Linked DNA regions of Homo sapiens: region 2 is linked to region 1. Evidence: promoter capture Hi-C in 16 types of primary human blood cells and fetal thymus (Javierre and others, 2016). All regions are on one chromosome and are shown on one strand. The core of a region is centred on a gene start or on the middle of the fragment in contact, and the rest is flanking DNA. Distances in the headings are between cores, read along the strand shown. Region 1 holds the start of NXT1 (nuclear transport factor 2 like export factor 1). Region 2 overlaps CST7 (cystatin F).

Region 1 (2,776 bases), core at 243-2,742:
CGGTATCTGTGAGGAACTGGATTCAGGACCCCCGAGGATACCAACACCTGCAGATGCTCAAGTCCCTGATAAAATGGTGTACTGTTTGATATAACCTATGCGCAGCATCCTCCTATATACCTTCATCATCTGTAGGTAACTTATAATACCTAATACAATGTAGATGGGATGTAAATAGTTGTTATACTGTATAGTTTAGGAAATAATGACAAGAAAAAAAAAGCCTCTACATGTTCAGTACAAACGCATTTTTCTTTTTCTGAAGAATATTTTTGATTTGAGGTTGGTTGAATCCACCCCACGCGGAACCCACGACTAAGAAGCGCTGTGTTTGCTAAGGGCTTCACACAAATTACCTCATTTAAATGTTACCACAAATGGATGAAAAAGGTATTACTATAACAATTTTACAAATGAGAAAAGGGAAACCTAGGGCTGGATCAAAGTAACGACGGTTAAGTACACTCCTGATCTATCGTTTACAAGACTAGACTGAGGGCTGAAATTTTGTCAATACAACGCTGTCCTTGTACTCGCGTAAGCAAGTCTCCATGAGCACAACTCCAGGACTGCTAGAGTGGGAATTTTCTCCCAGGGACCCCATTTCTCTTTGGCTGGAATTCCCGATCTCCACCTCACTCCTCCTCCCTCCATGGCACCAGTCCCCCCATCATCTCAGAAATGCCCCTCTTCTCCGCCCCTGGCTGTCTTTCCAAACACAATCTAACAACTGGCCACGCCCCCACACACCATAGAAGGACCATCTCCACTTACGGTTTTCAGCTACCTATGAGGTCGTCAGTCCCGCTGTCTGTGTCAAATCAGAAAAAGAACCTGACCGTGAGGACTAGAGTAAGAGGCTGTGAAGACTGCCGCCTCCTCGCACGACCCACACCGTCGAGTGTCCGGAGATGGACGGGAAAAGCTACCACAGTGGCATGGCCTTATTTCCTGTGAGTCGCCTTTAATTCAAACCTAGACAGACGCACGCCCTGCCCGGCCCTCCTCAGACCCGAGAGCTGCGCTGTGAGGGGACGCGCCTCCCCTCGTTGATGAGAATTCGCTGCCACGCTTTTTGCACAGGCGAGAGCCTCACCGCGGCGGCAACTCTACCACGTGGACAAAGGCACAGCCGTGTCTCATTCTCGACAATGGAGGAGGGCGTGGGGTATGCACTAGGGGCTGTCTCGGGGGTCAGACCGCCGGGGGACGGCAACGTACCTGCGCGGCGACGTCCAGGGTCAGCGCGGGCCGCGGCCCCCACGGTCGGGACGCCCCCCGCGTGGGACGCAGTTCCACTGAGGGGCCGGCCGCGGAGGTCACAAGGTGGGCCCACCGAAGCCTCTGGTAGGGGCACGGGAAGAGCCGCCTTTCTCTCCTCCTCCTCCTTCTTGGAGGCTTACTCTGGGTCACCGGGGCCCCAGAGCCGGGGGACTTTCCGGCGCAGTTCCGCGGCTTCCCGCGCGCGGCCAGCCGGTCTCCACGCAGACGCGAGCGCCCCGGCGCCGCCCTCTCCCGCATTCCCGTGACGGGCAGCGAAGTCAGCCAGTGGGACTGCGGGCCGGAAGGCTAACTCCGCCCATGTGTGGCTTATAAGAGGCGGTAGCTTCCGGGAGTGTCACTTTCCCAGAAATCCCGGCAAATCCGCCCTAGAGTTTTCGTTGGTCCAACCGGGCCACAGACTCCGGCCCGTCTGGTTAGGTGGGATGCCTGATTGGGCCAAACCTCTTAGGTCCCGCACCTAGAGCGGGGAGTAGCGTCTGCTTTTTTTTCCGCTGAGCGGAGGCCGCTAGGCTGGAGAGGGAGGGGAAGGTGTGTGGGGTCGGGTGAGATGCTTTCCCCTCGTCCCGCATGCGCCTGTATTGGAGTGATTTCAGTTAAAAGTCTCGTGAAACGTCACCAGTGATGTAGTCACGGCCAGCAGCAGCTGCCTGACCCCGCCGAGGCCTTCCGTCTGGCAACATGTGGGGCGCCGCAATGCTTGAGGCCACGGCGAGGGCAACGCCGGCCGCGCCCCGTGGAAACCGCGTGGCGGAGTGCTTGAGCCGATCGCGCTCTTTAGGAGTTAGGCCACTTAGAGGCGACATCTTGGTGGACACGGAGGAAGCCAGTTTTAGTCAGATGGGAAAAGTAGCTAAAAGTGGGAGGAGACTGGGGCGAGGGTGGGACGTGGGGGAGGCGGGGGCGTGACGGCGGCTCTCCACTGCCCTGAGGCTTGAGGGGCCCCGGGAAACCCGGGCCCGGCTGGGGTTGGGACTCTGTTCTTCCGCGTTCATAGCTACGATTCAGCTGTTCTGGAATGAGAACTGGATTTTTACTGAACTTTACGAACAGGCTCAACAGGATGTAACCATTCAGTGTGGAGGCATGAGAAACTATAGCTTGTAAATTAAAAGAAAAACCTCATTTCTTTAGACAACATTTTCAGCTCCATCTGCTGGTCTGAGGCTGAATAATTAATTGAAAAGCCAGGAGAGAAATGGGGCTAGATGAAGTGAGGTAGTTTAACCTGTGCTTTCTTGGCGTCCCGTCGGCTCCCTTTGCTTGCATTCCTAAGAGAATCTTGGTCTCAGATTTCAGGACAAGTGGAAAACAGTTGGGCTATTTAGTATAGGCCACCCCTTCCCCCCCGCACCCTCTCCCCCCACACACTTCAGTTAAGTAGGTGGAAAGTTTGGATTATTAAAAAGACACGTTGGAGGCTGAGCAGAGAGTGTGAAAGAGCATTTTCGGGGCTTTGTGAACTAACATGGCCTTTTGAACCCCAAGGCAGTGA
Region 2 (2,700 bases), core at 131-2,630, 1.6 Mb before region 1:
GCTGGGCCCCAGGGTGTTGAGGGCAGGGTGATTGGGGAATGGGAGGGGACAGGCTTCATAGCTGGGCACTGCAGGGAGGCCTTGCCAGGACGTCAGTGTCAACTCAGAGCGAGGGCCCCAGAGGAGGCCATTCCCACTGCTGTGTGAGGTCTGCAAGAGGCCTTTCCTGGGTCCTGGATGTCTGTGGGTGCACACCAGACCCCACCAAGGGTAGACAGGATGACGAGGTTTCTGGTCACCACGTGGCACCCCCAGGCTGGGTGGTGCAGCGCCGGGAGTGGGCAGAGAAGCATGGGACTGGAAGTTCTGTGGCCTTGGGATTGTCGCCCCATCCCGGTAAAGAGTCTCCATTGTGAAGGGAGGCCACCTGGCAAATGGCTGTCCCGTGGTTGGTTCTGGGCCAGAAGGTGAGCTTCATGGCTGGGCTTTGGATGACTGTGCCTGCCTTGTGCTTTAGCAGCCCAGGGAGCCTGGCCTTCCATCCCAAAAAAGCAGCGCAGTGCTGGTGCCCCACCCCATAGAGAATGCTGGCCACGTGCTGGTCCTGTGTGCTGGTGGATAGCTGTGTCCTGCGCTGGCATGCCCTGGGACTGTCCTTCACACTAATTAGTGTCACACACATCCCCCCTGAAACTGCTGCAGCCTTTGCTTAAGAAGACTTTAGGTGGCTCACGTCTGTAATCCCAGCACTTTGGGAGGCCGAGGCGGGCAGATCACGAGGTCAGGAGATCGAGGCCATCCTGGCAAACACGGTGAAACCTGGTCTCTACTAAAAATACAAAAAATTAGCTGGACATGGTGGCGGGCACCTGTAGTCCCAGGTACTCGGGAGGATGAGGCAGGAGAATGGCGTGAACCCGGGAGGCGGAGCTTGCAGTGAGCCGAGATCGCGCCACTGCACTCCAGCCTGGGCAACAGAGCGAGACTCCGTCTCAGAAAAAAAAAAAAAAAAAAAGACTTTAGGCCTCTGAAGATGGAATAGAAACCGCTCTGTTCCTGAGCACCAGGGGCTGAGCTTGGCCATCTAGGGGAGGTCCTGGAACCTGCATTTCCCCAGGCTCTCAGGTGACTCTGACACTGGTGTTGGCAGTGAGGGGTCCCTTGGGACCTGCAGTGTTACCATCAGGAAGGAGGGGTCCCCAGAGCCAAAGGCAGCTCCTTCTGGTCCTTGTGCTTGTTGATGACAGGAAGTTGAATGTGGCTTTTAGTTAAAACAAAAAACTGTTCTGGAAACCAGCTTGGTTTCAGCTCATCACTGTCATCTGAACAGCAGAGAAAGAGACACGTGTATGGAAGGGGTAGCATGTGTTCAGTGTATTTTTGCTGTCAGATTAGCGTTTTTTTTTGTTGTTGTTGTTGTTGTTTTGCTTTCTTTCCTCACATTACATTAATATGGCTGTCCATTGTTTTCTTTGTAAAAACTACATTTTATGGCTTTTTCTGACTATAAACTTACCTATTTTTGGTAGAAATTTGAAAAATACAGAGGAGCATAACAAAAAATAATTATTTTTAATATCTTAAAGCTAACCACTATTAACTTTTTTAAAAAATAAAATGTATTTACTTTTGCTTGAGATTAACAGAATTTTAAAAATGAAGTGAAACTCAGTTTACGCTGAACTTCAAATAAATTTCCCTTCCAAGCTCATGACGTTAGTTCCTAAAAGATTGTGGTAAAGTTACAAAAAGGTTATGAAAAATACTGAAATTGGTATTTTTTATTTAACTACATGTTTCCTAAAATGTAGGCTTCAAGTCAATAAACCTTTCACTGTCTTACAGTTGTCTAAACAGATATTAAAAGCTCAGTTTTTAATTTAAAATTGTTTAAAAGTCAAACCTATTTTTAGGATGATTTGTTTAGAGAAATTAACAAGGAAATGTTGATCATTAAGAATTAACACCCCAAAGAGGCCACTCATCTTCAGGGAAGAAAACAAGCAGTCCAGCAGGTGGTGAGCGAATGCAGCTCTTTGAGAGCCTCCGATGGAGTCAAGGAACTGTGAAGAGGACCCCCCAGGGAGGGGGCTCTGGGTTTGCTCCGTGCAACTGAAGGCAGGGAGCGGGAGAATGGGTGCTCTCCTCCTCTGCCTGCTCTGTCTGGAGGGCCCTGCGATGCTGTTTCTTCTCATGTGTGCCCATTCTGCAGGCGAGGAGACCAAGAGCTTGGAGTGCAGGGTGGGGGGCTAAACCCAGGTGTGACTAATTCGAAACACCACTCTCACTTTTTCCTCATTCAAGACGGACTGTTTGGCAGGTGCTAGGGGAGATGCAGGGTGGACTCTAAGACAGGCCCCGCCCACAGTGGTGGGGAGGCAGAGCAGGCCTGGGGCACAGGAGAGGACACCAACCTGAGGGTAAAATGGGTGAGCAGAGGGGCAGGGGATGGGGGAGCAGCTGCAAGGTGGCTGAACTGGCCTAGGGGAGGAGGGAGCTACGTGCTGGGAAGAGTTGGGGAGACCCCGCTGGAGGCTGCTGCTGGGTGCAGAGGGTGATGGTGGTGATGGCCGCGATGACGTCAACGGAAAGAACCCACGGACCGTCAGGCTTGTGAGAAGAAACAAAAGGCACATAAAATCCGTCTGTATAGAAACAATGCCTGGGGCAGGCCAGGCCTGCTCGAGGGGAATGGGGGACCTGCCATGTGCGAGGCTCGCACCAGGAGCCTGCCGGGGCAGCCTGACCCCAGCCCACCAC

The links. Contacts are between HindIII fragments. The CHiCAGO score rates a contact against its expected background, and 5 or more counts as called.
Region 2: a fragment that was not itself captured here is called in contact with the fragment with the promoter of NXT1 in region 1 in 1 of 17 cell types (neutrophils); the score reaches 5.3 in neutrophils.

Annotation. Positions count from the first base shown.
Region 1 is chr20:23,349,507-23,352,282 of GRCh38, reverse strand. NXT1 (nuclear transport factor 2 like export factor 1) reads right to left here and starts at 1,492. Exons shown (of 2, transcript NM_013248.3): 1 at 1,222-1,492. It overlaps NXT1-AS1 (NXT1 antisense RNA 1), which reads left to right and starts at 816. Exons shown (of 3, transcript XR_937384.2): 1 at 816-953. RefSeq lists enhancers at 641-690, 747-1,618, 1,557-1,851, 1,771-1,910, 1,619-2,491 and silencers at 1,181-1,450, 2,071-2,200. The HindIII fragment of the contact is 12,471 bases long and covers 1-2,776 here.
Region 2 is chr20:24,953,702-24,956,401 of GRCh38, reverse strand. All of the region lies in intron 1 of CST7 (cystatin F), which reads right to left. Among named protein-coding and RNA genes, the nearest start is that of CST7, 5.8 kb to the right of the region's middle. RefSeq lists an enhancer at 1,025-1,154. The HindIII fragment of the contact is 3,090 bases long and covers 1-2,700 here.